Linked DNA regions of Homo sapiens: region 2 is linked to region 1. The links are contacts of gene promoters, found by promoter capture Hi-C in blood cells and fetal thymus (Javierre and others, 2016). All regions are on one chromosome and are shown on one strand. Each heading gives the region's core, a stretch centred on a gene start or on the middle of the fragment in contact. The rest is flanking DNA. Distances are from core to core; before and after follow the strand shown.

Region 1 (5,141 bases), core at 1-2,500:
AGATGGATGCTTGTACAGACGTTTCCAAGGATATCATCTGCTGGCTCTTTTGTTGTTTCTAATCAAAGAACCGACACCCTTTGATCACAACAGATCACGGTATTGTACTACAAAGACTTTGTTAGAAAGACTTAAATTTTACACGCTTGTAGCTGTCACAGAGGTTCTGACAGTATTTACTTTTACCCCACACAAGTAAAGAAAAAATGCATTTGATCAGATCACATGGAAAATATGAGTGATTATAAATAGTAAATTTTCTAGAACCATGTATTGTTCACTGTAAGGAACCTAGTCAATGAACATTTTTTAATACTTGCTGGTTTTGAGTGCCAGGTTGTTGCAAAAGTCCTCTTCTTCCTCCCAAGTATAGAGACTCCTCTAGGTAGATAAACTTTCTGTTAATTGGAGGAAGATTGGCCCTGTCATGGAATTAATGAAGCTAAAGACAGACGTCTTTGGGGAACTGAGTCCCTGGGTAGCCACTTTTTGGGCAGGCTTCAGTATCCAATGGCCTGCGTGAATGTATAGGATGGCTGGCTCCCCTTCAAGTTGTTCATGGCCTTTCCTCCTTTTTCCCATAGGACACCTGAGACAGGCACCCCCACAAAATACAAATAAATGCCCCTTCACGGGAGTGTGAAGACAAAGCAAGTACTAGAACTTCTTCCTTAAGGTCTCATTCAGAGTGTTTTCCTGGCAACCCCTAGAGGAAGTGGGCACGGGCTACAGTGACTCTGTTGTTCTGTGTCTTCCCTCAGGTGAAATCTGGCCACCCTGGGCACCCTATGACAGCAGCACACGTGGGGATGATATTGTGCCTTGCGCTGGCCTCTGCGGTTCCCCTGACATATCAGATTTTAGACTTTGCTCCTCCTGCTTTCTAATGTCACGGGCTAAGCCATCTCTAACAAAAGACTCACTGTTCCTGGGACCTGCTGTTCACTCAAACTTTTCTCATGCTAACACCAACACATATAACACATTCACACCTCCTCACATCCTGACCAGACCATTCCAGGATGCAATTATTGTAAGGATTAGGACGTTTCACCGCAAATACAGAAAACTCTAAAACAAAGTGCTGAGGTACCGTGGTTGTAGACACTGCAGTATCTGGCTCTGTCTCCTTCTCTTAGCGCTGCCCTCTTGGTCGGGGGGCCTTGTCCTCAGCCTCACTGTCTTTACAGGGTCAAGATGACAATAGCAGTCCCCTGGGATCATATCTGAAACAGAGAAGGGGAAATCTCTTCCTCCTCACCCTGTGGAAGATAAAAAAGACTTTCTCAGACACACCTGCCCCACCCCCACCCCCCAGCAAAGTTCCCCTTGCCTCATTGGCTACAGCTTTGTCATATGCTTAGGTGTGAACCAATCACTGGCAAGGGAATAGGATTCCCTGGATGTACTTAGTCCAGTTGTGACCCCCTTCCTGGAGTGCAGATGGTCCAGCCTCTCCTGAAGGGGTGAGGAGGCCTGAACGGAACAGGGTTCTGTTAAGGGGGAAGAGGGAACCAAGAACATCCGCCACAATTATGTCATGAATGTCCTCAGCCCTTAGAGTCTCTAAGGCCACCAACAAAACACTGAGAATTCCAAGACGCATGGCCTCTCATAGTCAAAAAGCTTATTATAGTCTTAGTTGAGAGCCAAGCAATTAGTGCAACTATTCACTTAGTAATAATATCACTCCCTGAAAAAAATGTTCTGCTAACCTACTACATTAAGATGACTGACAACTCATATGTTGTTTTCACTTGTTAGTGCTTTATGGTTTGAAGCACTTTGTTTTATGGTTATGAAAAAAATATAAATCCATTAATTTAAAACTGGATAGAGTCTTTAGCTCTAATGAGAAGTAGGACAGTGAGGGTTGAAGGTTTTGATTCTTGACAGGCTTTAACATCCCTGCGCCTGATGTAAGTTGGAACTATATTATTAGAAAGGCAGGGAATAATAGTAGATGATTCAGCCCACTGCCGCTTGCTATGGGAGGGAATTTTTAAGGCTTTCATTTATGAGAAATAGTGATCATTAGCAGTTCTTTGTTTTTAAAACAGAGATTCCTACAAACGGTCAAGTCCAGTGGAATAAATGTATTGGTGCCTAATTGGAGAAATAATTTCAGGTTATTCCCAAGGAAAAGGGAACAGGCAGAGGGTTTTGGAGAGCAGATTCCTGTTTTTCAGTTTTGTGATGGGCCAGGGTGCGTAAAGATCACTGGATGAGGGGTCACGTGACCTAAGTCTATGGTAGTTCTTTCTCAGCATTTACTTTTTGTGTGTCCAGGGGCAAATTATGTTATCATTTTGTGACTTTGATGCTTATGTGTAGAATTATTAGTTTGGCCCAGATCATCTCTGAGGGTCTTAAAATTTTATGATTTTTCTGATCTGCCTGTTTCCTCTTGCCAATTTATGGTGCCTTGGTGGTCCCCCAAGGGAACAACCCTCTTGTGTGTAAATCAGTTACACTCACATATACACATATTTCAAATAGCAATTACCAGTGGCATCATTTGTTCCAGGCACCCAGCCTGTAAGACATGAGGACTGTTGGGTGTCTGTACCGTAATTGCTTTTCAGTCTTCACTCTTAGTAAGCCCAGAGGTAGTCCAAGTATGCTCCAAGGCGGTATCATACAAGCCTTTTGGAATGTGACCTACACTATGAAACCCAGCACGTACACACACAGGCACACACACACACCCCACACACACACCGTGCACACACCAATACTTCATTCCATATGTACTTATTATTTACCATGTTCCAGATTTTAGAGATACTGCAATGAACAAAACAGACAAAAATTCTGGACCTTGTGGAATTTCTAAATACAGACAGACAATAAACCAAAGGAACTATATATAATTTGTATATATAAATGTGTATCTTATATATATAATTATATCTAATTATTAATTTATATGGTATATTAGAGGGTGATAAGTTCTATGGAGAAAAATAAAGCAGGAAGGGAGACAGGAAATGCTGGGGGTAAGGGGGTCTGAGTGTTAAGTTTAGTGGTCAGAGAAGGCTTTACTGAGAAGGTGACACTTGATGGTGAGGGAGCCAGCCATGCAGATATTTGGAGAAAGTACATTCCAGACAGAAGGAACCGCAGCTGCAGAGTCCCAATGCGAGAGTGTACCTGGTGTGTTCCAGGAACAGAAACAAGGCCAGTAGAGTGAGAAAGGGGTAAATAGGACTGGCAGGGAGGAGGAGGCGGATCATGGAGGGCCTCGTAGGCCGCCCTAAGGACTTTGGCTTTTACACTGAGATAGGTTGTCCCTGGAGGGTTCTAGAAGACAGTGGCATGATCTGACTTAGGTGTTTTGTTTTTTTTTTTGTTGTTGTTGTTGTTGTTGAGACGGAGTCTCGCTCTATCGCCCAGGCTGGAGTGCAGTGGCGCGATCTCGGCTCACTGCAAGCTCCGCCTCCCGGGTTCACGCCATTCTCCTGCCTCAGCCTCCTGAGGAGCTGGGACTAAAGGCGCCTGCCACCATGCCCAGCTAATTTTTTGTATTTTTTTTTTTTTAGTAGAGATGGGGTTTCACCATGTTAGCCGGGATGGTCTCGATCTCCTGACCTCGTGATCCGCCTGCCTCAGCCTCCCAAAGTGCTGGGATTACAGGCGTGAGCCACCGCGCCCGGCCCTGACTGAGGTTTTAACAGATCCATTCTGGCTATTATGTTGAGATTAGACTAAACACAAATGCTGCATGTTGGCACACACACACACACACACACACACACACACACACACACACACAGAAACAGAAGTTCCACAAAGAGAGTTCATCCTGTTATATATGATGTGCTCTGAGACTGTCTTTTCTATTGTATTTCTCTTCATTTATCTAAAAACTATCAGGGCCCACAAGTTGATTTCAGAATCCACTCTAGAGTGGTGATGGGCACTTTGGAAAACAGATTAGAAATTGGTCCAGAACTCCAAAGATGTAGCAGATTCAGTTAGCCTGCTCAAGGCATGGTTGCGGTATACAGAACACCCTATAGGCCCATAGTACTATTTAATCATAATGTTCAAGGAGATTTTGTTAATTTTTTTAACTTGCTACACTGCGTAGCACTATTTTATTGAATGATCATTTAAAAGTTTCGTCTTTCCCTACAGTGGGCTTTTATTACAAATGTATATTTTAATAACTTTTTATAAAGAACATTTCAAATATATTTAGAGTAAAGAGAAAACTATAACGAACCTCTTACCATCCAACTTCAACAATGATCGCATCATAGCCTGGTTTCACTTCCACTCCATCCCATACCCAGGATTATTTTGAAGCAAATCCCAGGCTTGGCATCATTTCATCTGTAAATATTTCAGATGGTATCTCTAAAAGATAGGGACTCTTTTTTAAAAAAAGAATGCTGGGCTGGACTGAGCTAGTTACCTCCTGCTATTGTGGAGGCAACTCACTTCATCCCAACTTCTTGATACTTTTGCTTCTGGAAGTCATATTTCTCTAACATCTTCCAGAAAAGTCTTAAAGCTGCCTTAACCTTTTTTCCAGTCCACCTCTTAAATTTTTTCCCCCTCTTCCTCAATACTAACATGAGTGTGGATCTGGCTTGTCTGCAAAGCTTGCCTTGCTTCGAAGCATCCGACTGTAAAGAATCTTAACCTATGGCTGTGATTTGTGGGCCTGAAGAAAACTATCCATCCTTGCAAATGTCTTCTGCTGAGATGCCTCACACGGAGACTGTCTCTCCTCTTCTTCCTCCATGGATCTGCTTATTCAGGACAGCCCTGATTCTTCCACCAGTCCCAAAGGCAAACAACCCATTGCTGCAGAGAATAATGCCCCAAAAAAGGGAGACGAGGTCCCAGTCAAGAAACAGAAGACCAGAACTGTGTTTTCTTCCACCCAGCTGTGTGTACTCAATGATAGATTTCAGAGACAGAAATACCTTAGCCTCCAGCAGATGCAAGAACTCTCCAATATCTGGAACCTCAGCTACAAACAGGTGAAGACCTGGTTCTAGAACCAGAGAATGAAATCTAAGAGGTGGCAGAAAAACAACTGGCCGAAGAATAGCAATGGTGTGACTCGGAAGGCCTCAGCACCTACCTACCCCAGCCACTACTCTTCCTACCACCAGGGATGACTGGTG
Region 2 (5,354 bases), core at 1,961-4,460, 290 kb before region 1:
TAAAGGTAATCAGTTACAAACCCCTATGCCTCAAACAAACTAGCATCCACTGATATTAAGCAAAATATTTGTAAGAGAAAATATTTATCAAAAACATATTGGTAGGTGCATGTTGAGCATAGACCAGCTGAAGAACAATCCAGATGTAGATACATAATAATTCACACCAGCAGAGGCATAGCCTACAACAGCATGAATCCCCCCTCCTCACTAAGGCCAATTGCACTCTTGCCACTTCCTTTGTAAGAAAACCTGTAAACTAATATGGCTCTGTTCCTGGTAAATCAACCAGCTACTTGCTACTTGATGGCAGGTCCCATACATGGACCCTCCTAGAGGGGAAGTGATGATGTGTTCTTATTGTTCACAGTACACTTGGAATGAGACGGCATGGCAGATATGCTGCAGCATCGGGTAGGCCAAAGTGGAAGGAGAAGGTTTCCAAGCTCCTCGCTGCGTCAGTTCCTCCCCAAGGCCGTCACTGACCTTGGTCCATGTGTGCCCACTCTGTAAATTTTGTTGCTTTGAGACCTTCATTGTCCACTCATGACCCAAGTTAATTAGCAGGAACACTGGCCCTAACAAGAATCTCCAGTCTTAGAATAGGCCCATCCATTACTTAGTGTAAGACGCTTGATGGGCTCACACCACGTTCCCGTCCTATGTATAGGAAAACTGTGCAGAATCAAAGAATGTCAGAGCCTACGTTTTTATGGGCATTTGGCCTAATTTTCTTGTGCTGTCTGGGAAAGGAAATCTGGAAGTTTCCACCTACACAAACTTACAACTTTGTTTATTTTCCTTTCAAGTCTCCTTCTGAGGCCAAGACGTTGGTGAGATGAATAGTCCATTTATTGCCCCGGGTCAGGCCATCACAGTCGGTCATTGCACAATGTGTTTTTTATGTGTGAACTTGGATGCTAAATGAAGAACACTAAAGCAGGCGGGCGGATAGGGGAAATGACACAAACAGCCATTGGGAATGAATGGCCTTGTTTAAAGACTGATTTAAAAGATGACGGGGTCACAGTAGACCCTACCCTGAATTTCAGTGAGCAATGGCTGTAGGAAAATAAACAATTCTAGAATAAAATATATGGAAGATAGTACCCAGGATGCAGTAAATAAAGTTGCCATAATTTAATCTGTTAGAGTTCACTTGTGATCTCTACAGCCAAAGGGGAATTTGTAAATACAGTGAAAAGTCACAGGAGATGATAAATGATGTTGCCAAGTGAAATGTAACCATTGTTATAACAAACGTATACTGAGACCACCTGCCCAGCTGCCATGCTAAGAGAACAAAAAATAAATGCCCATGCCCTAAGTGGGGCAGGGGCAGAATCTATTATTAATCACTCACACATAAATATGAAAAAGTCTAGTAAATCCATTTCATTGAGCTTAGTCTGATAAAGAAGAACTGGGGAACGTTTCAGGGCCCACTGAGGAAAGGATGAAGTTCAGGTTGGGGTCAGGGTAGATGGGAAAGGCAGGCTACTAAAAATGGAAAATAAAAATTTTTGAGGGACTGGGGACAGCTGTCTTTCCTCCAACCCAGGAGTAAGGAGCCTGCCAGGATTTGGATCCCATCTCCTTCTCCTGCGTCTCCCTCTGCGATTGATGAACACCATCTTATTTTTAACTAGAACCCAGTCAAGCAGGAGACAATTTTTTCTTGTCTTAGTAGCCCAGTAGCTGTTGTTCCTCCTTAACAATCGACTCATCTATGCCTTGTGGGCCTGCGACTCCTGGAGCTTACCCTGTTTCTTTGAATTGCTAGTAAACTGCAAACCAAATCTATGATTCACCCTTACCAAAAGTTTTGCAGAACTTCATTTTCATTAGTGTATGTTGTGGACTCATCTCACGTCTGGCCCCATTTCATGTCCCTACACTTTCCTTTCCTCCCTTTTCCTTATCCCGCACCCCAAAACCAATGTCTATTTTATATCATGTTATTTTAAACATTAGATATAGATTTCCAAAACCACCTTAAATGTTTTGATTCAAAGTTCTAATATACATACATGGAATCAGAGTGATTTTTAATAATTGTGGTGTACAAAACACTATGTGCCTTTTTGGATTGGCTTTGCAGGAAAAGACATTTTTTTAAATAAGATCAACAAATAAAGGAATAGCTAAATTGGAACTTGGAAGCAGAATTCCAAATTTCTTGCCTTAACTGGTGGCTCACACACTCCTCAGCAAGTAACGAAAATATTTTAGATCTGTGGTCAAGTAAGCTCCTCCATTTCATAAGTTCAAAAGCAAGAAAAATATCAGGGAATTAATACAAATTCTACTAAAACTTTTAGAGTACTCTGTTTTAGAGGGGCTCTATGATTGCTAATATTTAAAGCTATATATTGTGAAGTTCTAAAACGTAAGATGAATTACAACATTTCCCTAACCCACTTATCACATTTTCAGGGCATGTTACATTTCAGAGGGGCATATATTTGGTTCTTATAATTTGTTTACTTTGATTGTTTCATTATAAAAGAAATACAAGTTTGTGTTAATAAATGAATGATAAAGTAAAAGACAAAAGTCTTCATCCTCTTGCCCTGTCCTCACCTTAATCCCCAGAGGTTACGATTGTTAGCAACTTGGTAACTATCCTTCTAGATCTTTTCTATGTATAGATACATACAAATGCTTGAGCATTGATGTAATGTATATTATAAAAAGAAGCTTTCTATTTCAAATGGATCCAGTGGATACAACACAATTTACTTACCCATTCGGTTATTTAACATTTTCAATGTTTTCTCCCATTTGATTTCAGAGCTGAAGGGGAAAACAGAGAGTGGCATGTTAGCCCCTTATTAACGCCCATCATTTTGTATGCTCCTGTCCACATTCCATATTGAATCCTAGCACATCAGTGGATCATTCACTTACTCTCTCTTTCATCTACAGCAGGAACGTAATAAGAACAAAGATGGTCATACTCTAACAGTCACATCCCAGTGGCTTCATGTTCCCTGGACAGGACTGCATTCACCAATATGTATCCCAGTGCTTGTGATTATTATAGTACTGTGTGACATTTGCATTACATCTGTAAATTCCCAGAATGGCCACCAGAGGGAATCAACCACCCAGCGCATTCAGAGCTATTGAGTCTAGCGCCAATGACACTGGCTTAGCTCTTATCTCGAATGTGTGTCTGCTTACATTGGCTAGCATTTTTTAAAATTAGATTATATTTTTAAAATGGCCATTACTGAACTCCTCTCCAATTAATATACGGAACAATGCAGGCAAAGTGCTTCAGACAGTGCCTGGCTAAATAAACACAGTAAGTTATTATTGTTATTGTCATTCATAAGCCATTTTAAAAAGAAGAGAACCATTCCTTGCTGTGCTATTATCCCTAACAAATATTTCCTGGCAAAGGCTCATCTATTTAGTAACAGTCCAATGCATAGTTACCACGCCGCTCCCCAAAGTGCTTTGGTCTTGGTTGCTTGATTAACTTCAGGATAAATGAGTGGCCCTAGCCAAGAAGACTTTTACAATTTTTCATTCTTATTTTCTGTTAAATATATGTTGCCTTATATACCTCTCTCTCCCCCTCCGCATACAATAAAATGCATTTCATGAAATACACACATTATATAGACTCTTTCATCAGAGAATGGAGGGAGATATTCTGGAAAAATGCATTTTTTAGTTACCACCATCGCCAAGATAGACTTTTGGACAATATTAAGCTTGTTGTCACTCACAAACCTTATTCAAGCATGTCCATGCCAATGATGAATGGATACTTTCTCTAATAAGTGCTCACAAATACAGCTATGGGAGGATTCCACCAAATTTACCTCAATTTCCATTATTTCAATATGCATTTACACATATTCTGATGTTTATTGACCAATGCTCCGTAAAAATCCAAAGGCAAATGAGTGAATGATGGTAAGCCTCGAGACCACACGGTGGCGCTGTTTCATCATACTTGAGAGAGGCTTTAGCACTTTGCAGGAGACCACGGCCCCCTGAAAACAGAAGACCATGAATACAAGAATTGCCTTCCCTGTGTTACTCCAATTTGAATGAGAGAACCCAGTAGAGTTTAACATTTAGCATTAATTCGTATCTAAACAACAAAACAGCACCAAAATGCAAATGTGAGGAAATCATTGCTGAAAAGTGGGTTGTTGGAGAAATGATACATAAATGCTTCATGCTGTTAATTTATGCTACCACTTTTCATAGCAATACTGCAAGCTCTCCCTAGATGTGCGAGGTGTTTTCACTTTCATGCTTATATTTTGTTCTCCACATGATCCAGTGAAGCAAGCAAGGGGGCTTTGATCTCTATTTTACAGCTAAGGAAACTGAAACCTTTCCTGGCACCCAAAGATTGCAAAATCTTCTGCAGCACAAAAGAGTTTTTTGTGTCCTAACATCTCTCTGATGCTTGTGAGAAAGTGTAAATTCCAGTAGGCACTTTACCCAAGCCACCTTGAGGCTCTGGTTTTTTAGTTCATCCCACCCCAGGCCCAGGCAGATATGGTTGAATTCTAAGGTTTCCATTCTTTCCCATTGACCAGAGCAGGCTGGCACCCAAAGTGCTGATCAGGAAGAAGGCCCCTCTTCCACCACCATCACAGAATCCCCAAGGAGCTTGTCTTCCATCCTAGGCATGTAAAATGATTTACTATCTGCGCCCTTCAGCTGTAGAGCTGAAATCTGCATCCTGTACCTAGTCCCTCATGATAGGGAAGAGGTAGAAAACAAAACACCCTCCACTCATTTCTTATTCATAGAGCAGCCAATGTAAAATATGATTACATACATGATGGATTGGATCCGACAGATAGTATAAAAGGCAAGCCGGGGAACATTAACTAGGGAATGGATTTTTCAATGATTTCCAATGTCTCTTGTAGTCAACAGTGAAGGGAAGGGAAGGGATGAGACAAATGCAAAGAGACACACACATAACTTTCAGTATCAAACTTTAAAATACATTTCACTCTCAGATAAAGGCTTATTGCGTGTTTATCCTATGCTTTGCTGTGTGCTTTATATACGTGATTTCTTATTTATTTATTTATTGAGATAGGTTCTTGCTCTGTTGCCCAGGCTAGAGTGCAGTGGCACGGTTTTGGCTCACTGCAACCTCTACCTCCCAGGCTCAAGCAATCCTCCCATGTCAGTCTCCCTAGTAGCTGGGACTACCGGCTAATTTTTGTGGGTTTTTTGTTTTGTTTTTTGGTTTTTGGTTTTTGTTTTTTTTTGTAGATACAGGGTCTCACCATGTTGCCCAGGCTAGTCTTGAGCTCCTGGACTCAAGTGATCCCCCCTGCCTTGGCCTCCCAAAGTGCTGGGATTAC

Evidence for each region. Contacts are between HindIII fragments. The CHiCAGO score rates a contact against its expected background, and 5 or more counts as called.
Region 2: a contact is called between a fragment that was not itself captured here and the fragment with the promoter of CHN2-AS1 in region 1, in 6 of 17 cell types (M2 macrophages, M0 macrophages, M1 macrophages and 3 more). The highest score is 8.4, in M2 macrophages.

Annotation. Positions count from the first base shown.
Region 1 is chr7:29,207,720-29,212,860 of GRCh38, forward strand. CHN2-AS1 (CHN2 antisense RNA 1) reads right to left here and starts at 1,251. Exons shown (of 3, transcript NR_120522.1): 1 at 1,094-1,251. The region is part of intron 1 of CHN2 (chimerin 2); the gene reads left to right. It also overlaps the pseudogene NANOGP4. The HindIII fragment of the contact is 4,492 bases long and covers 1-1,624 here.
Region 2 is chr7:28,918,865-28,924,218 of GRCh38, forward strand. No RefSeq gene overlaps it. Among named protein-coding and RNA genes, the nearest start is that of TRIL, 37 kb to the right of the region's middle. The HindIII fragment of the contact is 1,025 bases long and covers 2,699-3,723 here.